Regions from separate parts of the Homo sapiens genome. Here regions 2, 3, 4, 5 and 6 are each linked to region 1. Evidence: promoter capture Hi-C in 16 types of primary human blood cells and fetal thymus (Javierre and others, 2016). All regions are on one chromosome and are shown on one strand. The core of a region is centred on a gene start or on the middle of the fragment in contact, and the rest is flanking DNA. Distances in the headings are between cores, read along the strand shown.

The links. The method cuts DNA at HindIII sites, captures the fragments that hold promoters and counts their contacts. A CHiCAGO score of 5 or more calls a contact.
Region 2: a fragment that was not itself captured here is called in contact with the fragment with the promoter of FXYD4 in region 1 in 2 of 17 cell types (neutrophils and naive CD8 T cells); the score reaches 6.0 in neutrophils.
Region 3: a fragment that was not itself captured here is called in contact with the fragment with the promoter of FXYD4 in region 1 in 1 of 17 cell types (fetal thymus); the score reaches 5.4 in fetal thymus.
Region 4: a fragment that was not itself captured here is called in contact with the fragment with the promoter of FXYD4 in region 1 in 4 of 17 cell types (total CD8 T cells, non-activated CD4 T cells, naive CD8 T cells and 1 more); the score reaches 7.6 in total CD8 T cells.
Region 5: a contact is called between a fragment that was not itself captured here and the fragment with the promoter of FXYD4 in region 1, in 3 of 17 cell types (neutrophils, naive CD8 T cells and monocytes). The highest score is 10.4, in neutrophils.
Region 6: a contact is called between a fragment that was not itself captured here and the fragment with the promoter of FXYD4 in region 1, in 1 of 17 cell types (neutrophils). The highest score is 9.2, in neutrophils.

The regions. Positions count from the first base shown.
Region 1 is chr10:43,368,947-43,373,482 of GRCh38, reverse strand. It overlaps FXYD4 (FXYD domain containing ion transport regulator 4), which reads right to left and starts at 1,847. Exons shown (of 9, transcript NM_173160.3): 1 at 1,786-1,847; 2 at 711-756. The HindIII fragment of the contact is 9,288 bases long and covers 1-4,536 here.
Region 2 is chr10:43,218,590-43,222,891 of GRCh38, reverse strand. All of the region lies in intron 1 of RASGEF1A (RasGEF domain family member 1A), which reads left to right. Among named protein-coding and RNA genes, the nearest start is that of RASGEF1A, 46 kb to the left of the region's middle. The HindIII fragment of the contact is 4,714 bases long and covers 1-4,055 here.
Region 3 is chr10:43,130,146-43,134,993 of GRCh38, reverse strand. It overlaps RET (ret proto-oncogene), which reads right to left. Exons shown (of 20, transcript NM_020975.6): 20 at 4,643-4,848. Among named protein-coding and RNA genes, the nearest start is that of CSGALNACT2-DT, 5.8 kb to the left of the region's middle. RefSeq lists a silencer at 255-324 and enhancers at 3,459-4,059, 4,060-4,660. The HindIII fragment of the contact is 4,128 bases long and covers 1,388-4,848 here.
Region 4 is chr10:43,237,767-43,242,415 of GRCh38, reverse strand. All of the region lies in intron 1 of RASGEF1A (RasGEF domain family member 1A), which reads left to right. Among named protein-coding and RNA genes, the nearest start is that of RASGEF1A, 27 kb to the left of the region's middle. The HindIII fragment of the contact is 215 bases long and covers 2,499-2,713 here.
Region 5 is chr10:43,189,237-43,193,709 of GRCh38, reverse strand. No RefSeq gene overlaps it. Among named protein-coding and RNA genes, the nearest start is that of CSGALNACT2, 53 kb to the right of the region's middle. RefSeq lists a silencer at 2,266-2,495. The HindIII fragment of the contact is 3,019 bases long and covers 758-3,776 here.
Region 6 is chr10:43,155,613-43,160,372 of GRCh38, reverse strand. It overlaps CSGALNACT2 (chondroitin sulfate N-acetylgalactosaminyltransferase 2), which reads right to left. Exons shown (of 8, transcript NM_018590.5): 2 at 4,563-4,760; 3 at 1,442-1,658. Among named protein-coding and RNA genes, the nearest start is that of CSGALNACT2, 20 kb to the right of the region's middle. RefSeq lists an enhancer at 1-592. The HindIII fragment of the contact is 6,189 bases long and covers 1-4,760 here.

The DNA.
Region 1 (4,536 bases), core at 598-3,097:
GCTAAGAGCTCAAAACTGTGCCTGCACAGAGTAAGTGCTGTAGAAGGCGTTGTTAAAATCCATGCGACAAACCCACCCCCTACTCCTCCCCATGAGGAAGATACTATTATTGTCTCTATTTCAGAGAAGAAAAAAAAAAATGGAGCTTAGAGAGGTGTAATCAGATGCCCAGGGTCAGGTGGCTGCTATTCTAAGTCAGGGTCTGGAGCCTGCCTTCCTAACCCCACACAAAGGGCATTGTTATCAGGCCCCAGGCTATTGTTCCCAAAGGTCTGGGCCTGGGGTGGCCAGAGTCCAGCACCCTCAGTCTGAATTCCCAGAGAGCCTCCACAAAAGCAAGGGTGTGGAGGAGGGAGGGAGTGCTGAGTCCTGGGATGAGATGACTGCAGCAGCCAGGACCTCCCCTGCCAGCCCTGGCAGGGGACCCTACTCCAGCAGACCCAGATTCTGCTCTCAGAGTATAGACCTCCTGTGGTATGACATTTCCCCCTCAGGTTGGAAGTAGCCAGGACCCCATTTACTTGTCCTTAGGGAGGCTGAGTCTTTGAGCGCAGGCCCCCTCCCAGCCCTCTGCATATTGTTAGCCTAGTGTGGTCAAGTTTTCAATACTGAAGCCATTGTCATCATCTGCTGTACCCAGCTCTGGCCTCCTGATGAGATCACAGATCCAGGGCCAGCTGTCTGGGCTGGGTCCCTTCTTAGCAACTTACCAACTGTGTGACTCTGCAGGTTCCTCACTGCTCCTTCACCAGTGTCCTGTAAAAGGAGGATCATCAGAATAGTAGCAACCTCATAAGGTTATAGCGATGGAATTACGTGAACTACTATTTGTCAAGCCTAAGAACTATGCCTAGCACACAGTAAGCACTAAAAACCTGTTACAATAAATACATCCATAGGCCGGGCGCAGTGGCTCACACCTATAATCCCAGCACTTTGGGAGGCTGAGGCGGGTGGATCACCTGAGGTCAGGAGTTCAAGATCAGCCTGGCCAACATGGCAAAACCCCATCTATACTAAAAATACAAAAATTAGCTGAGTGTGGTGACAGGCGCCTGTATTCCCAGCTACTTGGGAAGCTGAGGCAGGAGAATCACTTAAACCTGGAAGGTGGAGGTTGCAGTGAGCCGAGATCCTGGCACTGCACTCCAGCCTGGGCAACAGAGGGAGACTCCATCTCAAAATAAATAAATAAATACATCCATAAATAAACACATGGTCCTTCTGCAGTGGGAGGGAGGCACTGGAGGGAGAGACTGTTAGGCACTGCTTCTGAACATCGGTTCTTGGGCTAGGAGCAGTCTCCAAAGCTGGCTTCCCCCAGCCTTCACTGGTCTCTCTACCTTCACCAACCTGGAGTTCCTGGAATACGAGGGTCTCAACTCTAGGTCACATTTTTTATTTTATTATTATTATTATTACTATTTTTTTTTTTTTTGAGACAGGGTCTTGCTCTGTTACCCAGGATGGAGAGCAGTGGCGTGATCTCGGCTCACTGCAGCCTTGAACTCTCTTGGCTCAGGTGATCTCCTCACCTGAGTATCTCAAGCAGTTGGGACCAGAGGTATACCCCACCAGCTCATATATTCTTTAGCCAAGGGCTGGCTTCTGTTTCCTCCAACCCCCAACCCACCATCCATATGATAGTGGGTGCAAAGCAGGAGGCCTTCAAGCGGCTGCTGCAGCCATATCTGTCCTCAGACCCCTCAACAGGCTCCTCATTACTCAGAATTCTTGGGCACCCACCCCCTTCACCCAGCAGCCCCAAAGTGGACGCCTGCTCACCTGCGAGGTCACCTTGGCGAGGGCTCACCTGAGCTGGCAGCGCAGAGAACGGATCTGAGGAGGCTGCTGGGCACGTGGGTCGGCTCTTTAAACCCTGCAGCCACGCCCAGGGCTCCATGACGCAGGCTGGAGGGAACTGGTCAGGCTCCCTGCCACACCCAGGGCTGTTGGGGAGGGGCGGGCTGGGCCGAAGACCCTCTTTTGGCTTCTTTTTTTTTTTTTTTTTTTTTTTTTTTTCTTTTTTTGAGATGGAGTCTCACTCTGTCACCCGGGCTGGAGTGCAGTGATGCAATCTCAGCTCACTGCAACCTCTGCCTCCTGGGTTCAAGCAATTCCCCTGCCTCAGGCTCCCGAGTAGCTGGGACTACAGGTGCACGCCACCACACCTGGCTAATTTTTTTTGTATTTTAGTAGAGATGGGGTTTCAATGTGTTGCCCAGGCTGGTCTCCAACTCCTGAGCTCAGGCAATCCGCCCACCTCGGCCTCCCAAAGTGCTAGGATTACAAGCGTGAGCCACCGCGCCCAGCCTTTCTTTTGGCTTCTTTAGCTCACCCAGATCCTAAAAGAGGGACCTGGAGGGTGCTGGGCAGGGTGTTCCTGGGCTCTTGTGCCAGCTTTGGGGGTTCTGGGACCTCTGTGTGGGGGTGTCCTGGGGACCACGGAGGATACCAGGAGCCAGGCACTGACCTTGAGGCTCCCTGTGCTCAGCAGTGCCATGCCACTGCTGTCACTTGGGCTGGGTGTCTACTGAAGGGAGGCTGGTGGCCGATGGGCACCCCCGGGGGTGGCTCACCCTCTGACAGGGCCCTGACACCCACTTAGCCTCCCCCACAGGTGAGGGATGGGGCCAGGAGGAGGATAGACGCCCCCGGCTGAGGAGTGGGCTGCCTCCCTCTGCAGACCTCAGGCCTGCCTTGTTGCTGGGGGCCAAAGTCACCCCACACAGGCGTGTGGAGGACCCCAGGCCTCCCTAGTCTGCTGTTACCCCTCCTTAATTCTTTTCCAAATGAGGGACACTTGTCCCTGTCCAGAAGGTAAGGGGGGATGGCTGACAAGGGATGGGGGTCTCTGGGCTGGGAGGGCTGGGGAGGGCAATGATGGTTTAGTTGGTTTGTTTGTTTATTTATATATTTATTTTTGAGCTGGAATTTCGCTCTGTCGCCCAAGCTGGAGTGCAGTGGCTCGATCTTGGCACACCACAACCTCCACCTCCCAGGTTCAAGCAATTCTGTCTCAGCCTCCCGAGTAGCTGGGATTACCGGCACACACCACTGTGCCCAGCTAATTTTTGTATTTTTAGTAGAGATGGGATTTCGCTATGTTGAGCAGGCTGGTCTCGAGCTCCTGACCTCAGGCGATCCACTGCCTCGGCCTCCCAAAATGCTGGGATTACAGGTGTGAGACACTATGTCTGGCCCAGACATACTTTTAAGTGGAAAAAAAGTATAGGGCAGTCTGAATAGGATGCTGTCACTTGTGTAAAAATATAAAATATTGGTTGGGAAAGGCGGCTCACGCCTGTAACCCCAGCACTTTGGGAGGCTGAGGTGGGCCTGTGTCTGTGTGCATGCTGCATGGGGCTTAGCACAGAGGAGGCGTCCCGGTGTTTCCTCAGCCAGCTGTTTACTTGAGTTCATTGCATATATGACTGCACCTAGCCCTCACAGAAGTCTTTGGAGGTTCATACTCTCATTAGCCTGTCAATCTACAATAGTCAAACAGGTTAGATTTTAGTTTAAAGGAGTTTATTTAAGTGTAAAGGTTAAGGATGGCCTGCTCAGGAAGTAAGGATGGTAAAGAATGGAAGTCATGGCTGGGGGCGGTGGCTCACGGTTGTGATCCCAGCACTTTGGGAGGCTGAGGAGGGCAGAACATGAGATCAGGAGTTCAAGACCAGCCTGGCCAACAAGGTGAAACCCCGTCTCTACTAAAAATACAAAAATTAGCCGGGCGTGGTGGCGCGCTCCTGTAGTCCCAGCTACTTGGGAAACTGAGGCAGGAGAATCGCTTGAACCTGGGAGGCGGAGGTTGCAGTAAGCTGAGATCGTGCCACCGCACTCCAGCCTCAGCGACAGAGCGAGACTCCATCTTAAAAAAGAAAAAAAGAGAAGAATGGAAGTCAGAGTTTTAAAGTCTCGGTGGAGTGTGGGGGTTAAATCCTGACACTCTGGGAGGCCAAGGTGGGCAGATCACTTGAGCCCAGGAGTTTGAGACCAGTCTGGGCAACATAGCGAGACCCCATCTCTACAAAAAAAAATAGAACAAACAGCCTGGCGTGGTGGCACACACCTATACTCCAGCAGAGGTGGGAGGATCGCTTCAGCATGGGAGGTCAAGGCTGCTGTGAGCCCAGAAAGCACCACTGCACTCCAGCCTGGGTGACAGAGGGAGACCTGTCTCACAATAAATACGTAAAATGTAGAAGTTTGGGATCATTTATTTTATTTTTATTTTTTTGAGACAGAGTCTCATTCTGTTGAGACAGAGTCATTCTGTTGCCCAAGCTAGAGTGCAGTGGCACGATCTCTGCTCACTATAACCTCCGCCTTTTGGGTTCAAGTGATTCTTGTGCCTCAGCCTCCTGAGTAGCTGAGATTACAGGCCCGAGCCTCCATGCCCAGCTAATTTTTTCTATTTTTAGTAGAGACAGTGTTTCACTACTTTGACCAGGCTGGTCTCAAACTCCTGACCTCAAGTGATCCACCTGCCTCGGACTCCGAAAGTGCTGGGATTACAGGCATGAGCCACCG
Region 2 (4,302 bases), core at 449-2,948, 150 kb after region 1:
ATATTGGAGGCGAAGTCAGATCTCACAGGTTGAGAGCTTGGTCCCACAAGGCTGTCCCCCTCCCTCGACTTCAGATGCCATTTGCAAGTCTCAGGTTGTGGCCTGTGCTTCTGACCCACCCAGCAAATCACCACTCCTGGGACTCCTTTCTCAGATTCAATTAATTTGCTAGAGCAGCTCACATAATTCAGGGAAGCACTTGCTTCCATTTACCCACTTACTATGCAGGTTTTTACAGTGGTCACAGATGAACAGTAAGAGGAAGGGATGCTCAGGGCAAGGCATGTGAGAAGGGGCGTGGAGCTTCCCTGTCCTCCCAGGCACTGCACTCCAGGGCCCTCCACCTGCTTGCCTACGCAGAAGCTCTGAAGCCGCTCCTTTTGGGATTTTGTGGAGGCTTCATTATGTGGGTGTGACTGACTGAATCATTGGCCATTGGTGATGGACCCAACCTTCAGCCTCTCTCTTGTCCCTAGAGCTGGGGGTGGGAGTGAAAGTCCCCACCCTTTCATCACATGGTTGGTTCCCCTGACAACCAGCCCCCAGCCAGGCTGTCCAGAAGTCCATCAGCACACAGAAGACACTTACCACTTTGGAGATTCTGAGAGTGTTAGGAGGGTGTGCTGGGAAAAAAGACAGCGTCATGCACCACATAGTGGTCCCCTGAGATTCATAATATGATATTGTCACTGTGCTTTTTCTATGTTTAGCTGTAGAAATCCTTACCGTTGTGTTACAGTTGCCTCCAGTATATTCAGTGCAGTCACACACTGTGCAGGTTGGGATCCCGGGAGCAATAGGCTGTACCACGGAGCCTGGGTGTGTAGTGGGCTGTGCCATCCTGGTCTGTGTAAGTCACTCTGGGGTTTGCACAACGACGAAATCGCCTAAGATGCATTTCTCAGGAGGTATCCCCGTCGCGAATGGACGCATGACTGTATGTGCCCGGGCCACACGGACAGGAAGGGCCAACTTGCAGGCAGGAGGCCTGGGCGGCTTCCAGCTGTGCCCTGTCCTCAGCCCCACACCTGTATCTCATCTGGGAAGTGGAGAGCAGGGCCTCAGAGGCCCCCAGATGGTGTCACAGGGCCCAGCAGGTGGGAGGCCCTCTGCCTACGCCACTCATTGGTGGTGAGGCTTGTGGGCAGTTTTGCAGGGGCTAGAATGCAGCACGGGCCCCTTGGACCCTGGCCTGATTTCCCCCACCCCACCTCGCTGCCCTGCGCTTGCAGCCTAACCTGCAAATGCAGCAGGGGCAGCTCCTCCTGGGTCAGGCCCTGTCCATCCCACAGGCCTGGCTGGCTCCCCCTGCTGTCACCTCACACCATTCTCCTTCTCCGGAGCCCTGTGCTGGTTGCCCTGGGTAGCACATCAGACAGGGTTCCAATCCCAGCTCCACCAGTTTCCCAGACTGGCGCTGGTGACTGAGGCCCTTTGGGCCTCTGTTCCTTCATCTGGAGAAGGGGGGAGCAGCAGGAGGGCCACCCTGGGGAGGCATGGAGACGGCTGTGTCTGGCTTAGGTTCGAATCAGCCTGGTGGCACTAACTGATGTGGGGAGGTTTCAGGATGACTCAGCAGCCAATTAAATGCTTACAAATTCATGGTTTATTGGGACGTTTTCACACCCCAACAATCATGCAAATATATTCCACACACCCAGGCAGTCATAAGAGAGGCGGGAGCGAACCACAGTGTCGGGGGATGGGGAGACCAGCTGCTGATTGCCCAGGGTCCAAGTTCCTTCAGAGCAGAGGGACCGCAGACCCCCGGGTGGAGGGATGGGATCACTCCTCTTCTCCCAGCAGGGCGTCTGGTGGCCTCCAATGGAAAAGAGGCTTCGGAGTTCTCGAGGGCAGTGCTTCTGCAGGTGTCTTGGTCATGAGCAGCTTCTTTGTATTTATGGCCCTCCGCAGGAGTGTCCCTGGCCATCATCTTCAGGTGCCTTTTGACATCACTTTCTTGTTGGGTCTCAGGGATGCCTGGCCACAGCAGATATCATCTGATCATTGCAGTCCACCACACCTATGCTAATCACTCTGAGGGCTCAGCAACTTCACTCTAAGCTGAGTTACTTGTCATAAGTACTCCCCCCCCTTTTTTTTTTTTAAGACAGAGTCTTGTTCTGTCACACAGGCTGGAGTGCAGTGGCGTGATCTCAGCTCACTGCAACGTCCACCTCCCAGGTTCAAGCAATTCTCATGCCTCAGCCTCTGGAGTAGCTGAGATTACAGGTGTGCACCACCGTGCCTGGCTAATTTTTTGTACTTTTAATAGAGATGGGGTTTCACCATGTTGGTCGGGCTGGTCTTGAACTCCTGACCTCAAGTGATCTGCCTGCCTTGGCCTCCCATCGTGTTGAGATTACAGGAGTGAGCCACCACACCCGGTGAGATAGGGTCTTGCTCTGTTGCCCAGGCTCTGTCACCCAGGGATGCAGTGGTATGATCTTGGCACACTGCATCCTTTACCTCCTGGGCTCAAGCAATCCCCCTACCTCAGCCTCCTGAGTAGCTGGGATTACAGGTGTATGCCACTGCCCCTGGCTAATTTTTCTGTAGAGACAGGGATCTCCCTATGTTGCCCAGGCTGGTCTTGAACTCCTGGGCTCAAGCGATCCTCCACCTCGGCTTCCTAAAGTGCCAGGATTACAGGTGTGAGCCATTGTGCCTGGCCGTTTATTTTGAGACCCTAAGGACCACAACACATTATTACACATTCCTGTGCACTGGTACTCTTGGGGCTGGTCAGTGTCTAACCACCGGTTACCAGCCCCCAGGGCCAGGGGACAGACGCACAGCATGTGACAGAAGAGCTGCCTGTGTCCACGGCATGGGGGTGGCAGTCAGGACGTGTGTCTGGGTGCTGTTTCCCAGAGGCTGCCAGACTGAGCATGCCCATGGCTCTGTGACCCAGCAGGGGGCTGGGTGCCCCCTTCCCCTACCCCCATGACTGGCCCAGAGAGAGCTCCCTGCTCCCACAGCCATCTGCCAGGAGGACAATTCAAGTGAGGGAAATGGATTTTTATTTGTTTTGGAACACAAAGGAAAAATCTTTGCTCAGCGTAATTAGTTATCATTTAAAAGTAAAAGAACCATATGTCTTTTATTCCATATCCCAGCACCCTAGGTGGCTGTAGAGGGCGGAGGTGCAGCTCACCCGGGACAGGTCTGTGTGTGGCCTACGCGGCTGGCCATCCCTTCCTGCCTCTGGAGGCCCTCAGCCCTGACCCTGCCCGCTCACTGTCCCTCTCTCTTGGTCATGGGCTGCTGCTTCGGGGCTGACTCCAGGGCTGGCTGGATGTGGGCAGTGTGCCCGGGTGGGCCTGGGCAGGACAGATTGCTGGTGCCTTCCTACTGGAGCCAGCAGGCGCCCTGGCCACTGCCCAGAACTGATGAGCAGCAGGACACCCTGCTCTGTCCTGTCATCATCAGTGGACAACCCATCTAGGACAGGGACCCCAGAGGGGTGATTTCACTTGGGGTGGAATCTGCACACTGCTTCCCAGCCCCCTCCTCCGTGGCACCCTAGGGGTCTCCCTGGAAAGGACAGAACTGGCTACCAAGGTTGCGTGAGTTTGCACATGACCCCATCCAAGCCTGTGCCCAGCTCTGTCCCTGGGAGGCACAGGGCTGCCCACCCATCTACAGGAGGCTCTCGTTACCCCTGCAGAATCTGATGGCGTTGGCCGAAGAGGGAGCGAGGCCAAGGGGAGGGGGGAGCAGGGCTCCCCAGGCGGCTGGAGTGGGAGGCCAGGCTGCCAGCGCCTGCCGGGAAAGGGCAGGGATTCTCTGAAGTCCCACCTGCTGCATCCTTGGGCCTCTTGAGTCTCAAGAATGGAATGGTTCTTGGTGGACAATGATGTTCTATGCCCTGAGCAGGCCCAGAAGAAGCTGACTGGACAGAAAGGGAAAAGGGAGAGGCAGAAACCCAGACTGGGCAGAATCTGAGGAGCGTGAAGAGGAGACGACCAGATTCCTTCAGTCAATTCAAATTGTATTGGGTAATAGAAGGGAATTCAGAAGGAAAAAATGAATCATGTGTCTGTAACAAAGCTTTAATTATCCGCGTCGCGCCTGTGGCCAGGCCTCTGGAGCGGGCGCCCTGTGAGGCGCTGTCGTGCTGGTTCCCATGGCAGCCGCCTCCTTGTTGGAGTCCGGCCTGAGGCCCTTGGCCAGGCCCTGAGACTGCCCTGGCCAGCCCGGAAGGTTCACAAAGGTAAATCCGGCCCTTCTTCGCAGTACTTGAAGTTTGGCTTATGTGAAACAGCGTGGCCCCTGCCCTCTGATGCCTGCCTGGCCTGG
Region 3 (4,848 bases), core at 2,202-4,701, 240 kb after region 1:
ACCATAATCCCTTGTCATGCAAAAACAAACAAACAAACAAAAGGACCTGCAGGAGTTTTTTTTGGGATAGGCTAGAAAATACATTGTATCATTTGGGAGTCTAGAAAGTGGCCCTTTCATTGCTTGTTGTCAAGGAGCTAAATCTGAAATCGGAGACCTAATCAAAAACAGAAATGAGAATGGGAAATAGCCCCTTAACCTGAACTACAACACCTGGCAGACATTTTAAAAGTGCTTTAGAACAAAAATAAGACAGGACCTAAAATTAACTTGTGGCCCTGCTGATCAAACAGCTGGGTAGCCCCTCCCCAACCAGTCAGCTACTGACAAGGGCACTTATAGATACTGTATACAGAAAGGACACTGAGAAAAAAAGATTGTTCAACTTAGAAAACAAAAATCAAGACAAAAAGAAAAATCCCTCACTTGAGATCAATGAGGTGCACTGGGGAAAGGAAAAGCACCAATATCCTGCAATACCTTTAAACACCTGCCATGCATTAACCATACATAGAAATGGTGCGTTGGTTTTCCTAGGGTTGCTGTAACGATTTACCACAAACCGGTTGGTGTAAAACTGCAAAAACCGTAACATCACCCTTGGTTATTCAGCACTCTAACTGGGGAGTTACTGACTCATTGTTTATGCAAACAATCAGAGCAATGTTCTCATCTGTGGGAATCCTGTTGTCATAAACTTATCATTAACCCTGGCAGAAGTCATTAGCAATGCCCCTTCTTCCCTAGATGGGGCACCTATCAGTCTCAACTCATTGGCATGAGTAGTGATGGACAGTCTCATTGCTGTAGATTTCTTGTTGGTTGGTGATGGCCTCTGCCACTGCTAATACTGCATCTGGATCAGTGAAACAAGAGAAGGTAGAACAGGTCACACATCACCTTGAGGCAAAAGCTATTTGGCTTTCTAAGGTTGATCCTCATGGCCTATATGGGATTTGCTCTTGGCCTGCATTGGTCAGCTGAGGTTTGCGTTCAAAGCGTCTCACAGGGACAGTTGCTCTTGTTTCTGTCATAGTGGTCCTGATGTTGTTCCACTGCATCCCATTCTTGTCAAATGAGCACTGTGATGCTATAACAACAGAAGGATCAAGATCTCACAATACGGTTGACCAGAGAGACAACTGAATAATCTCTGAGCAGTGAAGAGCTGGATCTCTAGACTTCCTTGAGTTGGCCAACCTTTTACAAACAAGAAAATGACCGACAAGGGGGACTAAGAGACTGAACATGCAAACAGACAATGGCCAGACCACATACGGCCAGAGGATTTGAATCAGATTCTCTGCAGAACTAGCCAGGAAGCCAAACCACAGCCTCTGTAACAATTATCCCAGAATGGTTAGGACTTGGTCAGGAACTGCAAGCTTCCCTATTTTTTGCCCACTGAACTAAACAGAGAAAGCCACCTGTGTCCCCCAAACCAATCACATAAGAGGCCCTCCTCCTGGTTAGCTGCCTCCAGCTTCCCCAGGCCAACAAGCCCCAATCACAGCATCCCTGAAGGCTTCTCCTCACCCTCCCCACCTTTTATTTTTTACTATAAGGCTTTCCCACTCCTCTGCCTGCTTTTGAGTGTCTGCCAAAAGTAAGTGATCCTGGCTGACTCTCTTGCTATAGCAAGTTCAGAACCAGTGGCTCCTGTGGGTTCTCATATGGGTAGCCTTTGCTTATTTCTACAAAGTTAAAGATTAGAGGTAATTGTGTGAATATCTCTTTAAAAATAGTGTCCAACCACACTTCCTCTACTTTTTCCAGTGACTGTCTTGTGAGACACTACAGCTCTTCCATCCTTGGTGTCATTCTTATTTTTAGAAATCATTTGCTATGATCTTACTTTTCTTCCCAGACACTGAAGTCCCCCAAACCCTCAGTGTGCTCCTTTACCATGGGGTTCTGAGCAATCTAAGAGCTTCAGGCCCTGTGGCCAGAGTCTCCAGGAAAATTCTCAAGCTCTTGAAAACTCCCAGAAGAAAGGCACAAAATATGGAGCAAGGCACACGCCCTAGGGAGAGGGGAGGCTCCAAGACATGGGTGCTGCCTGGCTCCCTGCAGTCCTCTGACCAAAGTCTCTTGCCCCTGGAGACCCCTTCTTCCATGGGAGAGTATAGAAAAGGATTGATGTGCAGGTGAGACAATCGAGCAGCCAAGAAACAGGTTGCTCTTCTGTTAATACATTGAGAAAAATACACAAAAACTTGAATGTTTTAAATGAATTTCATATTTTTATTCAAGAAATTGACAGTCTGCATGGTAAATATTGTCTGTGTATGAAATATCAAACTTGTTTCCTTCTCAGAAAATGAAAAATGATTTTTTTTAGCTTTAGAATTCACTTACCTTGCTTACCAGCACATTTTTAGCTTGAACTGCTCAGTGTCATCTGAGAGGATGCAGGTCTATGATCTCTCCCAGTGTGGTAGTCACAGTGGCTGGGGTAGTTTCAGACCGCAAGCTCCCTCCATGATGACCTTCACATTTCTGCAGCCCCCACAGTGAGATGTGCCCCCATAAAGGATCCCCTGCCCGGGGTCCAGCTGAGAGATCTTGCTTGGCCAGGTCCTGTGATTTAACACCTCAGAGACATCTGCAAAAATACCTGGTCACTTGACACAGCACTCAAATTTGTAGTTGCAAAGATAAACTGTGATTTCTCCAGGGTGTTCAGAGTGTTTGCCTCCTTAACTCCTGGGAGCAGCCTGCCCTTGCAGCCCTCAGACGGCCACTACCTGGCCTCAGCAGCAGGACACAGTAGTGGCCCCACGCTGAAAAGTTCTCTACATGCAGGTTCTTATGACCTCAGCTAAGATGATCCTTCCTGAGTCCCAGCTCCCTGAAGAGGTGGGAGACTCTACACAGTTTCGGTCAAGGCTGCTGCCATGGAGAAGGGACAGGGCCACAGCAGGAGCCCTGGCAGAGAGGGTGCTTTCCCTGCAGGCGCACAAGCCTAGGACTTGCACCTGGAGCATCTTCATGTGGAAGACGTGTGGGGCCACGCACACTGCTGCATGCACCCTGAAGACCCACCTTTCTGCTTTTTCAGGGCCACAGAGGTTAGGATTCCCTAGGACTTCCTAGAACCACCCCCCAGTTGTGAGGACCACTAAACACAGGCGAACCTCAGAGATACTGTTCCAGACCACTCCGGTAAAGCAAAGAAGATTGAAGATCCCAAATAAGTGAGCCACACAAGTCTCTTGGTTTCCCAGTGCATATAAAAGTTACACTTTACACTGTACTGGAGTCTGTTAAGTGTGTGACAGAACTATGTCTAAAAAACAATGTACATACCTTGGTTTAAAGATTCTTTACTGCTTAACAGTACTGATAGAGAGACATGAAGTGAGTGTGGGCTGTTGGAAGAATGGCCCTGATAGACTTTCTCGACGACTCAGCGTTGCCACAAAACTTCAATTTGTGAAAAACGCAATAAAGCAAAGAGCAATAAAACAAGGTGTGCCAGACACTATGCGTGAACGCACCCGAGGCAGAGAGAGGCACCGCTAACTGCTCCACCTGCCTGCGGGAGAGGCTTTCTTTATATGTTAGAAATTATGCTTTCCCTTCAAAATTTCTTTTGTGTATGAAGTATTTGTTCAAGCCCTGTTCTCAGGCACATTCAACTAGATTTCTGCCCACATAAGCTGGCCTCGTGGTGGGAAGAAATCCTTCGTGAAGGTTGGCAGAAAATGTGTTTTTAGGGGAAAATAAAACAGCAAACATACACACACAAATAGTCCTAATGTAGAGTCTACATTAGGGGTGGCTTTTAGCATTAACTTTTCTTGGCGTAGATTTCTACTTTCAGAGGTAAAGGCTACAGCAAACAGCTGGCTCTGGAGATTACGTTCACTTCCAGCCCGTGGTCCAGGCTGAAGGAGGAAGCCGTGAGCAGACACAGACACCCACGGCTGGGAAGCGGGGCCTCATGGGCCTGGGGCGGGCACTGGGCGAGGCGTGCCAAGGCCTGCATGTACACCACCTGGCGAGGCGTGCAAAGGCCCACGTATACACACGTGTATGTGTGTGACACAGGCCGTTGGCATCTGACACAATGCAATCGCAGATGAGACTGATGTTGACAACAACTCCCGTTTGCCCACTGACCCATCAGCTCCACGCCCGGCATGAGAAGCTCAGAGAATTCCTCGGGGAAGACATAAACAGAAGTAGTGAGTATGTCAGGCTTCATGGTGGTTCAGGACAGCATTTTCCCTCACACTTCTAATGGCCTTCCTCAGGACTTGGCATTTTGTATTCTGTCTCCCACAGCTCTAAGGCCAACTTCAAAAGATCAGCAACAAGCAAATTGCTAGAGAACTGTGAAGACCTAAACTTGACACTGGCTGCTGCTTTGTTCTAGGGATGGACACTTTTAAGGAAGGGATTCCTTGAACAGTGGAGTTAGCTGAGTTTTTCAGTTTCTATCAATGTGCCTATTCACACGCAAATGTACCAGATAAGCCAGCGATATCTCCAGAGCCCCTAGTCCTCGACCACTATTGATGCCTCAGTGGTTATCATGATAGAATTCTTTGTGATGTTTTAAATATTGTATGGAAACTACAAAATCAGAAATCTGTTGTTTCCAACTAGAATGTTAAAAAGAAAAAAAGTTTACACATTTTATGATACATGATTTTATTTACACAACTGATTTTCTTAGTCACCTTGATTACAAAAAAAGGAACATGATCTGGTTTAATGACCTTTCATAAATAGATTTTACAAATTTTAATAACTGACAGATTACTACTTAATACTCAGTAATACTTAATACTTAGTAACTTCTGCATTTACGTGTATGAAAATTCCAGTAGAGCTAATAAG
Region 4 (4,649 bases), core at 1,357-3,856, 130 kb after region 1:
TTTTTGTTGAATTGTCTTATTTCTTCCTTCAATTCTATCAGTTTTTGCTTCTTGAATTTTGGGACTCTGTTGTTAGGTATATATTTGTTTGTAATTGTTATATCTTGTTGATTAGCCCTTTAATCATTATAAAATATCCTTCTTTGTCTCTAGTAACAATTTTTGTCCTAAAGTCTATTTTCTCTAATATTAATATAGCCATTCTGGCTCTCTTTTGATTACTTTTTGCTTGGAATGTCTTTTTTCATATTTTCACTTTCTTATTTATTTATTTTTTTGAGATGGAGTCTCGTTCTGTCGTCTAGGCTGGAGTGCAGTGGCGCAGTCTTGGCTCACTGCAAGCTCCACCTCCTGGGTTCACGCCATTCTCCTGCCTCAGCCTCCTGAGTAGCTGGGACTACAGGTGCCCACCACCATGCCTGGCTAATTTTTTTGTATTTTTAGTAGAGATGGGGTTTCACTGTGTTAGCCAGCATGGTCTCAATCTCCTGACCTCGTGATCCACCCACCTTAGCCTCCCAAAGTGCTGGGATTACAGGCGTGAGCCTCTGCATCCGGCCATATTTTCACTTTCAACTTATTTGTGTTCTTCTCTCTAAAGTGGGTCTATTTTAGAAAGCCATGTAGTTGGATCATGTTTTTTTTTTTAACTCTGATAATCTCTGACTCTTAACTGGAGTGTTTAATTCATTTACATTTAATGTAAATACTGATAAGGTAGGATTTGCTATTTGTTTTTTATGTCTTATGCCATTTTTGTTCCTTTATTCCTTCATTATTTTCTTCTTTTGTGTTAAATAGATATTTAGATATTATCTAGTGTACCATTTTAATTTCTGTCTTTTCCTTTATTGTATATTTTTGAGTTATTTTCTTACCTGTTGCCTGTAGGGTTATAATTAATATCTTAACAAATAACTATGTATATGTTATATGTACATGTCAATGTTCAGATTAATACAAACTCAATTGCAACAGTATTCAAAAACTTTGCTCCTCTGTAGTTCTGTTGCCTCTCCTCTCCTTTGTGCTGTTACTGCCATAAAATTTACATTTTTATACCTTGTGTGCTCATCAATCTATACTTATAATTATTGTTTCATGCAGTTGTCTTTTAATTCAGGCACATTCAGGGTAGTATGGTCATAGACCAGTTGTCTTTTAATTCAAATAGGAGAAAAATAGAGTTAAGTGCATAAAATGTGTTTATACTATCTTTTATATTTACTAATATATAGCAATAAATATAAAACCAGTAAAGTTACCTTTAATGGTCCTCTTTATTTTTTCACATGATTTCAAGTTGCTGCTTATTGTCCTACTATTTCAGCCTGAAGGACTCTCTTTAGTAGTTCTTATAAGGCAGGTCTTCTTCTGACGAGTTCTCTATTTTATTTGTCAGGTAATTTCCCTTTCATATTTGAATGACAATTTTGCTGCATAAAGAATTCATGGTTGACACCTCTTTTCTTTCAGTATTTTGAACGTGTCAGCTCAACTGCTTCCTGCCCTTCATGGTTCCTGATAAGAAATCTACCTGGAGTTTGTTGAACTTTTAGGATATGGAGATGAATATTTTCATCTAACTTAGAAAATTTTAGCCATTATTGCTTCTAATATTTTTTTTCTGCCTTATTTCTCACTCTCCTCTTTTTCTGAGACTCTTCTTATACATATGATAGTGTCCATTATGGTGTCTGTGGCTCTATTTATTTGTTCCTTTCTTTTTTCTTTCTGTGCCTCAGACTGGATAATCTCAATGGACGTTTTTTCAAGTCACTGATTCTTTCTTCTCTCTGTTCAAACCTGTTGTTGAGCCCCTCTTGCTATGTTTCATTTCATTTACTTAGTTTTCAACACCAGAATTTCTGCTTGGTTCTTTTTTATAATTTGTATTCCTTTATTGATATTCTCTGTTTGATATATTGCTTCCATACTTTCCTTTAGTTCTTTAAACATCAATTCCTTCAGTCTTTAAAAAATATACTTAAAGTAGCTGATTGAAAGTTTTTGTTTAGTAAGTCAATTCTGGAAATCAGATTCTCCCCACTCTTTGGGGTTTGTTGTTGCTGCTGTTTATTGTAGTAATGGTTGTTTGTTTTGTGACATTTCTGGATTACTTCTGCAAAGTCTGTATTCTTTTGTGTGTGGCACTGAAATCTCTGCTCAGTTATCTTAGCGGTCAAATAATGATTGGAAAGAAATTTTCATAAGTGCCTGGAGTCAATAAAGTTCTCAGTCTTCGCTAAGGGGCTCTGTGTCTTTGGGTATGCTTTCAGCTCTCAGCTAAGCAGCTGATAACTCTGCCTTAGTCTTCTCTTCCTGCTTGCACAGAGACTCAAAGTCAGCCAGAAGTGAGTGCTTAGGGTTTCCCAAGTACTTTTCTGAGCATGTGCACAGCCCTGAGCATGCACTTGACCTTCTAGATTCTCAGGAATGCACTGCAGTTTTTCAAAACCCCTATGATCATGTCATTACTGAAACTTTCCTTTTAAGCTTTCTGGTTAGTCTATTGCTTGCTTCACTGTTATCTACTGCTTCAGGCATTTGTGAAATTAAATACCAGTAATTGTTTTTGACAATGAACCTTGGGGAATATGATTTTTGTACTTGAGACCTCTGAGTCAGGTCAAATACAGACATCCTTGTAAGTGGGGTCTCCATGGGAACTACTGGACAGGTCAAATAATGACAGTTTTCTGAGAATGAAGCTTTGAAAGAGTTCCATTGCTGTTTTCCCTCCAGGGGCTGCTACGCCAGTGGTTTTCATGATGAATGTGGGGTCCTACTTTTCAAGGCACTTGGGATAGAGAGTCAGGGATGGGACTAGGGCAAGTTCAAGTGCTATAAAATTTGCAATTCTTACTGAGATTCAGTTATGTTTTTTGAATAAATCCTCCTAAGATTTCTGCAAGCGTTTAGTTAATTTTGGAAGTTCTAAAAATGTGGATTCTGACCTTTTTGTTTTTTGCTGGTTTTCTTGTTGCGTTTATGGAAGAGAGGGTTTTTGGAGGTCCTTACTCCACCATTTTCACTACCTGGCTATACTCTATTGAAAGCACTTCTGGGATGTCTCTTTAAACTTACAATGATCATAACCTTTGACCCAGCACATCAAGTATTAGGAGTTCATCTTTTATATGTGGTCACACATTTGAATAAAAACTTTTCATCAATAATGCCCATTGCAGGAGTGTTTTTCGTTGCCAAAGACTGTAAAGCACCTTGGTGTCTTTTGCTAGAGGACCTCTTACATGTGTGGCAGCCCACCTACCCAGTGGAATACCCTGCAGCTGCCACAGAACGTATGGAGTTGCCAGGAGCTGAGGGGCTCTCTCCAGGGAGCTGCAGGTGTCTGGGGCAAGTAAAGAAACTACAGGGCATCATTCCAGGCACCACTGATTAGAATGAATAATACCCCTTCTTCGAGAGCCTGTGATTCTGTGAATGACTAAGAAAGAAACTTCTGGAACATTTGTGTCTGCTCTAGGAACAGACACATGCACAGAAGCACGTGCAGACTTGTGTATTCGTGGGTTGCCTCATTTCCATTTGATATCAGGTCCCTTTCCACCAGCCTAGAGTGTCATCCTCTCTGGCTCATGGGGATGGCAGCTGTGGGCCCTTCCCATGGAAGAGGGGGCAGGACTCCCTGAGATGCATTGCTGCCCACATGCCCTACCAGCCTGACCCTGATATCTTTCAGGGTCCCTCAGTATCCCCACTTGCCCGAATGGCAGTCAGGGGCCCTGCCCATCACAGACAGCCTCTCCCCTGCCCTGCAACATGTTATAGGGACCTGCCAAAAGAGGACCTGGGGAAACCCACGGGACCCTCACAGCACCCTGGTGTCTTTGCAGAGTTGCAGGAGTGTATGTGGACATGGGGCTGGGGCAGTGAACAAGGAGGCTGGGGAACCCAGGCTTTCCCCCACTAAACTTAAATGAAATATAAGTAAACTGTCAAAAACGGTAGTAGTAGAGCTATCTAAAGTACTGCAGTTCGGTGAAGTACACTGAGCAGCTCAAGGGTAGGAAACCAGACAATCTGCGATGGCTAACCCTGCTGAAGGCAGGTCTGACTCTGCGATGGCTAACCCTCCTGAAGACAGGTCTCAATCTGCGATACAACACCCCCGAAGGCAGGTCTCAATCTGCGGCGGCTAACCCTCCTGTAGGCACACATAAACTAGCCACGGCTAACTCCCCTGAAGACCCCTTTAAGTCGACATGGCTAACCCTCCTGAGGGGCAGGTGTTACTCTGTGATGGCAAACCCTCCTGAAGGCAGGTCTCAATCTGCAGCACCCCCCCTCCCTCCGCCCCCCAAAGGCGGGTCTCAATCTATGATGGCTAATCCTCCTGAAGGCGGGTCTCAGGCACACCTGCGTCAGGCCTGGCCGCCTTGGCCTGTGTGGCCCACTCCCCTGATGGGCAGGTGGGCTGTGCTGAGCCCAGATCCCCGCCCACAGGTACAATGGCTGGGTCTCTGTTTGCCTGTGCCTGAGTGTCTGCAGGACAGGGCTCTATTCCCTGTGGGAGAGGAGACATCACATGGCGGTCCTGGGACATTCAGGCAGAGAAGCTCTGTGGTCTATGTGCTGGGGCCATGCTGGGATGGTCCCTGGGACTTCTATGGGGCTGGGTGTCG
Region 5 (4,473 bases), core at 1,018-3,517, 180 kb after region 1:
AATTTGGACAGCCAGGGGCCCGTGTTGGACAGAAGCTGGGCCTCGGGGCCTTGCCACCCCATGCAGTGGGCAGTGCAGGACAGGTGCTCGGGTGTCTGTGGAGCAAATGGGGACATGGAGATGATGCTTGAGCTTTTAGTGAATGACATTTTTTAGGTCTTTAAATCCAATGGCATCCCTAATTTCCTGGTGAAGAAGTTATTTTTGGAAGTGTTCATCTGCCTCAGCTGAAGAAGGGGGAGTGCATAATTTGCTCTGGCCTTGGATACAACCTCGAGCTGGGAGGGCCATCCCCTGCCATGGGCAGTTCCTCCAGGGCAGTGGCTTTCAAGTGTGGGTCCTTGGGAACCTGTTTGAATGTCCATTCTTAGGCCTCTCCACACACCTCCTGAATTGGCAATACGGTGGGGGCCTAGTCCAATCCCTGGGCCACACAGTACGTGTGAGAAGCACTCGGTGGGTGATAGTCTGTGTGCCTTGTGACCAGTACATCCCTGTGTGATGGCTGAGTGTCACCCTTCACAAACGTTGCAGGAACAAATGGATGTCAGAGTGTCAGATGTAGCAGAATGATAAGCTAAGGATCTGTAGTAAGCCATGGAGACTTCTGTGACACACACTGCTTGTGACACACACCGACCACGCCCATACGAGAACATAGACCCTGCTCCTCAGGGAGGCACAAGGCAGCAGGGAGGGAGCAAGGAGCCGGGGAAACTGGAGTGAGAGCTGGTTTCAGCCCCCAGCTGGAGAAGCTTGGACAAGCTGTTTACCTTATAGCCTCCATGTTTTTCATCTGATCACGGCTCTCTTGCAGGGCCGTGGTAGCAGACAGAGCAGGCACCTGGTTCATTGTCAGCACAGTCAGTGCTCGCTGTAGACTGGCCTTGGTGCCGAGGACGCCAAGCAGCACTTCTGCAAAAGGCCACAGCACCTTTTGGGAAAAGTGAAGCAAAGGCTTCTAAGAAGCAAAGGCAGACAGAGCAGGCACCTGGTTCATTGTCAGCACAGTCGGTGCTTGCTATGGACTGGCCCTGGTGCTGCGGACGCCAAGCAGCACTTCTGCAAAAGGCCACAGCACCTTTTGGGAAAAGTGAAGCAAAGGCCCCCTTCTCAAAGGAACACCTGGGGTCCTGGTCAATACGAAGCATGTTAGCATTCACCTAACATGTCACTGTTCACCTAACAGTCACTGTTCAATCCAACCAGCATAAAAATATAAATGGGAAAGAATTCCCACAAATTTGCATTCAAAACTTCAAGAAGCAAAACTTACAATCCATCTGCAGGCCAGTTTAGACCACGTTAACACAATTTCAATCTTTATTCCCAACAAGGAAGTCAGGATACTGTGAGGAAGGTGAGGGGCTGCTGAACACCCCACAAGTATCTACCCACAGCACCAGGATGCTCAGGTGCAGATGCTCAGGCGCGCTCAGCAGGGCTGAGTGGTTCAGCAACAGTGCAGGGAAGAGTGTAAGAAAGTAAACTGCGCCACTTGTGCATTTCTGGCAGTGTGAGAGATGAAGTGCGTGCCCACTGAAAACAACAGATAAAGTTGTACAAAATTTAAAAATCCAAGTGAAGGCAGGGAGCCAGAGAAGTCAGGGAAGCTCTGCAGCCTGCTTTGCCCTGAGGGTAAGGACCATGAGCTGCTGTTTTCAAGTCCACAGGGGTAGAGAAAAAAGTCCAGGGCCCACCTCAAGATGAAGAATCAAATAGGAGACCCCAGCCCATAAAGCTGGCATCCCAAAGAGCCACCCCTCGGTGCAGCAGTGAGCTTGAAATAAGGCGCTCCACCCAAACCCCACCGAGGGACCTAGGAAAAGCTCCCTGATTTGAATCTCAGCACTGAATGGAGGCAGGGAAATTTTACCTTCATAATTGATAATGATGAGTCAGTGAGCTTCACAAAATTTTGCAGCACAAATCAACACTGGTCCAACAAACTTCAAGCTAAGAATTCTTTGAACTGGCCCTGAACTGGTACTGCCCCTAAACATCCAGTAGAAACAAACATTCTGACTTATATTCCAGTTTTTAAAAAAATACCTCCTTAGGGCCTGGCGCGGTGGCTCACGCCTGTAATCCTTTGGGAGGATTTGGGAGGCCGAGGCGGGCGGATCATGAGTTCAGGAGATCAAGACCATCCTGGCTAACATGGTGAAACCCCGTCTCTACTAAAAATACAAAAAATTAGCCGGACGTGGTGGCGGGTGCCTGTAGTCCCAGCTATTCGGGAGGCTGAGGCAGGAGAATGGCGTGAACTCGGGAGGCGGAGCTTGCAGTGAGCAGAGATGGCGCCACTGCACTCCAGCCTGGGCGACAGAGCGAGACTCCTCCTCAAAAAAAAAAAAAAAAAACCTCCTTAGCTGTGTCTAATTTTGTTCAACCCATCTGCTGGATTTAAAAAATTCAATTATTGTAGTTTTCATTTCTAGATGCTCTATTTGGTTATTTTCCAAATCTGATCATAATTCTGAAGAAATTAACAGAATCTAACACAGAATAAAGCATTGGAAAACAAGAAACAGGTTGAGGCATGGAGGACACAACGGTTTTAACATGTTATCAGAGTTAGAGAAGCAAAGAGACAATGAGGCAGGAATCATTTTTGAAAATAAAACAGCTGAGAATTTTTCAGAGTAACAATCCAAGGAACCCGAAGAATCTCAAGCAGGACCAGAAAAAAAACAAACCCACATGCAGATGTATCATAGTGACACAGAACAGAAAAGAAGAGAGTGGACTGCTTTCAATGGATGATGGCTGTTACGCTGATGATTCACAGCAGAAATAACTGAAGCCAAGAGACAGTGGAATAGTAACTTCATTGTGCTAAAAAGAAGAATGATAGCCAATTTAGAATTCTCTACTTTTTAAAACTATTTATTAAATGAGAGATAATAAAGATATTTACAGACAAACTAAATGGCGTTTGCTATCCACAGACCTTCCCTAAAAGAAAAACTAAAGGATGGATCTTGACTCTTCCTGTAACCCATATACAAAACGATTTCCAGATGGATCACAGACCTAAATATGAAAGGCAATGCAATGAGGTGTCAAAAAAAGAATTAAAAAAAATTCTGGAGTAGGAAAGGTTCTTAAATTGGACACCAAAATCACTAACCATAAAAGAAAATTGGTTTTTATTGAAATTAAGAACTTTTGTTTACTGACAGATACCATTAACATAGTGAAAGAGAGGCTGTTGCTAGGAGAAGGTATGTGTAATATGTAAATCTGACAAAGGACTCAAATTCAGAATACAGAAGTAACCCCCACAAATCAACTAAAAAAAAAATCAAACTAATTTTTTTTAAAAAAGGCAGAAAAACTTCAACAGGCATTTCACAAAAGAAGATATCTAAATGGCCAATAAGCATATGATAAGGTACTTGACATCATTCCCTGATTATAAACTAAGATGAAAATAAGAACTGTACACACCCACTAGAAATTATAATTAAAGAGTTTAAATTAAAAACACTGGAAATACTGTGTCGGGGAGGAGGTAAAGCAACTGATCTCTCATACATGGCTGGTAAGGGTTATTTAAAAGGATTGAAAAAAATCTGCCTGCTCCTGGCAAAGCTGATCAAGAAAAAATAGAAGGCATAAGTATATCAGGAATGAGAAAAAAAGGATATCACTATAAATCGTATACATATCACACAGATAATAGGAGGATATTGATTTCATCTGAATTTTCAAATTTATCAGTATAAATTCCTAGAAAATTATGATTTACCCAAAATAACTCAATGAAAGCTTATTCTACAAACAATAGAAAGTCTGAATAGTTCTATAATTATTAAATAAATTGAACAACTGATCAAAAATCTTCCTAGATAGAAAAGTTCATGCCCAAGTGGCTTTCAGGCCGTTCTTCCAGGCAGTTCAATATTCAAGGAAGAAATTAATTCTAATTTTACAAAACTTTTCTAGAAACAGAGTAAGAAGGAACACTTGTAACTTAAGTTTATAAGCTAGTATAACCTCAACAGAAAAGCCTAATGAGGGCCAGGCATGGTGGCTCACACCTGTAATCTCTGCACTTTGGGAGGCCAAGGTGGGAAGATCACTTGAAACCAGGAGCTTGAGACCAGCCTGGACAACAAACCAAGACCCCGTCTCTACACACAAACAAACAAAAACAACAACAACAAAAATGAGTCAGGTGCAGGGGTGTGTGCCTGTGGTCCCAGCTACTTGGGAGGCTGAGGTAGGGGGATCACTTAAGCCCAGGAGGTTGAGGCTGCAGTGAGCCATGATCGCCCCCACTGCACTCCAGCCTTGGAGACAGAGCAAGATCCCGTCAATTAAAACAACAAATAAATAAACAAAAATGCCCAACAAGGAAGAGAACGGGAAGTCATAGGCAATCTCATTCATGAACATAGATTAAAAACACCTGAAGTATATACATACCCACACCCCCGACATGAATACATATGAGATGTGTAAATG
Region 6 (4,760 bases), core at 1,802-4,301, 210 kb after region 1:
TGTGGCAATACTGATGAATTATGGAAGGCACAAGGTCTATGCCTGAATGAGTGCACCCCTTGGAGGGCCATGGAAGCAGTCTGACATTGCTGCCATTATTTCAAAACATTTTTTGAACTTTTGCTTTTGGATTGCTTTCAGAAGCAAATCACAAGCTATTCAAGGAAATAAACTCAACTGGTTCAGAACCACATAAATAAATACTGACCTTTTGGATTAAGAGTTATTTTGTCTTCAGACTGGCTAATTCCAAAAATTGTAACTATCATTAAGGAATAAATATTTGCCATGACTGAGATTACTTACTGTAAATAATAATGTGGCCTTTGAAAGTAATTCCAAGAAAGGCAATAAAAAAATGCTTTAGGAAATCGGATCTCAAGTGAGCTATTTGGAACAGTAAATCTCACTTGGAAGTATGACTGCCAGACATTCAGCTGCAGACCAGTTTTAATTAACCTTTTAAATCCAACAATTTCAATATGAGAATAAAGACTAGGATCACAAAGCATTAAACCAGTATATCAAAGTATCTAAAACATTAAAAATATTAAAGTATTAGAAACATGGAAACTGTTAAATCAAAAAGCATTTTCCACAAATAGTTTTCATAATGTGTAGATAATTATTTAACACTTCAGCATTTTAAAATATACAAATTTGATAACATAAAAAAACTTTACAAATTCTCTGCTTTGCAAGCTGAAATAACTTTCTCCAATTTTTAGTTTAATGTTTGTATGTCTAAATGTATTTCAATTAAAAAACTCAAATCATTCTCAAGGGGATTTTCTTGTGAGACACAAGTATTCTGTATCTTAATTGGGGTGGTGGTTCGTGAGTGTATACGTTTGTCAAAAGACATTAAATTCCAGCCTGGACAACATGGCAAGACCTTCTCTCTACAAAGAATAAAAAAGATGGCATGCACCTGTGGTCCCAGCTACTTGGGAGGTTGAGGCAGGAGGATCACTTGAGCCCAGGAGGTTGAGGCTGCAGTGAACTGTGCTCACTCCACTGCATTCTAGCCTGGGTGATAGAGTGAGACCCTGTCTCAAAAAAAAAAATAAAAATAAAAAAAGAGTCATGATACCTATATCCTTAAAATATGTGGATTTTACTGCATGTAAATTATTCCTTAGTAAAGTTGATTTTTTAAAAATTCAACTTGTCTTAAAATGAATTCAAAACAATTATCAAGGCCATCAAATTTAGTTTCTAATAGGTGTCACTCTTAATTTATTTCATAGTTCAAATTGTCTATAACACAATATACTACACATGCTTTAAAAAAAGAGAGAATATAAAAAAATAAAGTTCCCCTAAAGCCTGTAAAATTATTCTAAGTAATTATAATCGGTGAAGATAAATTAAGGAAATCTGAGTAAAACGTGATTTTTTTTAGGAGAATGTAGCTTAATCATTAAGCCCTGACAGTTACCTGAAGTTCTGCATAAATTGTACAAATGCTTCAGTTCTTTCAGCAAGTGGCACAATGATATTAATAATTGATCTAGTGATGTCAATCATCTCACTCTTCACTTTCATGAGAGGTCCAAAAGGGCGGAAGAGGGTCACATGTCTATATTCCGTAAGGTCTGCTTTCTTAAAAAAGAGTTCATACTGTGTGCCCTTATCTCTCTCAGTGCGATAATAACCTAAAGGAAAGAGTTAGGAACAAAGACGTCTCCATGTCAAAGTTTACAAATTCAATGGGAAGACAGATTTTACTCACTTAAACATAAAGGGTATTAAACTAGACCTGCAGGATTTTTACCTATTTGTGAAAATACTTATCCCCACTGCACAGTAACAATTACTCGCTTAAAAGAAAAGGTTAAAAAAAAAGTTCACTGTTCTGTTATTTTATTCAATCTATAAAATATACTACAAATGACAATTGTTCCTTTTTACATACGACTTTTTAAAAATACTAGAGCCTATCAATATGGTAATCATGATAAATAAAGAAATTACTTCTAGCAATATTAAAATCTAGACCCAAGAGCCAAAATTTCTATTGGTTTAGGTCAACTAAAAGAAATCGAGTGCCTTCGTGTCAGTTATGTGATACAAAGAGTGCCACATGGTCTCAATTTTGAGGACAGGGCCAGTCTAGTGAAGGAGACAGAAAAATAGACAAATAATAACAATATAGTGCTATGTGATATATATATATATCTGTATATATATATGTGTGTATACATACATACATATAAAATCACTGACTAGAGTGAAGTCAAAGAAAAATTGGTACAGATTTAAACACAGTGATTTGAGATGCCTTTGAGAGAAAAGCATGCGCATCTACGAGGCAATCTGATTTTTTTTTTTTTTTTTTTTTTTAGACGGAGTCTCACTCTGTCACCAGGCTGGAGTGCAGTGGTGCAATCTTGGCTCACTGCAACCTCCATCTCCCGGGTTCAAGCAATTCTTCTGCCTCAGCCTCCCAAGTAGCTGGGACTACAGGCGTGTGTCACCACGCCCAGCTAATTTTTGTATTTTTAGTAGAGACGGGGTTTCACTATGTTGGCCAGGATGGTCTTGATCTCTTGACCTCATAATCTGCCCACCTCGGCCTCCCAAAGTGCTGGGATTACAGGAGTGAGCCACTGCGCCCAGTGGCAATCTGATTTTTAAGTATGGCGCTCAGGAGAGAGAAGAAGGTTAGACCTACAGATGTGTGAGTCACTCAGTAAATATCTGGGTATAAAATGGTGAATAAAATAGACTTGGTCCCAACCCTCCTGAGGCTTACACTTTAGTAGGAAGCACAAACCAGGAAATGGGCAATGCCACATACTGTGACAAGCAGTATGAATGTACAGGTGACAAGAGCACACAGAAGTACTGCTGTCTTAGACCTGAGGTTGCAGATGACTTCTCAGAAGAAGTGATATCTGAGCTAAAGTTTAGAAGAGGGATAGGAATTAGTTGTCATTACTAATTATTAGTAATTATTCTCCCTGCAGTGGGCAGACAGTGGCACAGTAGAGGAAAAGTGAGGAACAGAATATGTTCCATTTAGAGAAAAATCCTGAAGTATCAGAATCCAAGGAGAGTTATAAGACAAAAGCAGGAGCTGCAGAATATAAAACTGGCACAGCTCCCTTTCTTTTTAGGTAGAGCTGATGTGAGGACATTTTACACATGTTACTTAGTTATCTTATTTCCTCCGCAGCTTCCAATTCTGCCATAAGCTACAAACATACAGTGAGAAGACAAAAAGCTGAGCTTGCAGAAAAATCAGAAGAGTTTTGAGAAAAATAATCCATCAAAAATGGCAGGAAGTGACAGCAGAAAAAAGAGGAGGCCACAAGGAAAGGCAGCTGCAATGCCACTGCAAAGCATAATGCCCTCCCTGATGGCCTCCAAGGGCCTCAGTGTATTATAATAATGCTACAGTGCAGCAAGTGATGGCCATGATGATTTGGAGTCAAAAAGTCTACATGTGCTATACGAGGGGTCCCTAACCCCCAGGCCACAGACCGCTACTGGTCCGTGGCCTGTTTGTTGGGAACTAGGCGGCACAGCAAGAGGTGAGTGATGGGAGCCTGGCAAGCATTACCGCCTGAGCTCCGCCTCCTGTCGGATCAGTGGCTGCACTGGATTCTCAAAGTAGAGCAAACTCTGTTGTGAACTGCACATGCAAGGAATCTACACTGCACGCTCTTTATGAGAATCTAACTAATGCCAGATGATCTGAGGTGGAACAGTTTCATCCCAAAACCATCCTCACCATCCCATGGAAAAATTGTCACCCATGAAACCAGTCCCTGGTGCCAAAAAGGCTGGGGACCACTGTGATAACACAGTTTATAGAATCAAGCAAAGAGAACTTTCAAGAAACATTTATTTTTAAAATGGTTTAAGTCAGCAATTAAATGTCTAGCAGTGAGTGTAAAGGAGATGGGTAGGGATCTAGAATTATTACTGTTAATATCAATCAATATCTTAAATTTTATAGCAGTGTTCTTCAACCTCTGAGTCACATCCCATCTTGATACATAAAAATTCCATACCCTTTCTGAAATATGTATTAGGAAAACAGGTATTTCCTTACTTTTCCAAATGCCAAATGTGCTTTTTAAACTATGTATAACCCCTTGTTCAGACATGAGCTTCTCCTTCCTCCAATACGAAAAATAGCTAAGAGTCTACTAATTTTTTCTTTCCTTTATCAAATGGTTTTCAAGTTTTGAGTTTTAGTTTACACATTTTTTAAAAACATAAAAAAGAACACCAAGATCAGGTAAGTGAGGAATATAAATCATACACATGCAACAAGAGCTGTTTTATTCTATTTCCCTAGTCCTTATTCTCCATTTTTATTATGATCTCATACCTTTTTCCAGAAGGCCACTTAAAATTCTTGGTGCAATGAAGTGCAAAAACTTTCAGTGTTTTAATACTGTGGATAATGACTGACTTATATTACTAACATTTGTCTACAATACAATACTAGCATTTGTCTACAGTACAATACTACAATACAATACCAGCATACAATACTAGCATTTGTCTTACTAACATAATATTGACCAACATATTTTTCACATTACCTTCTACGAAGTCATTTTCATTAAATATCAGTTTCTCTCCAAGGGGACCCTCCTCATCTTCTTGTTCATCATCTTCATCAGGATTATTAATGACCTCCAAGCCCGCTTCAATAACTTCCACCAATTCATCTCGTTTGTCTTTTCTAACTGGCTTTTCTTCAGGATGGCGAGTGAGACCCATTTCCAATTGAAATACTT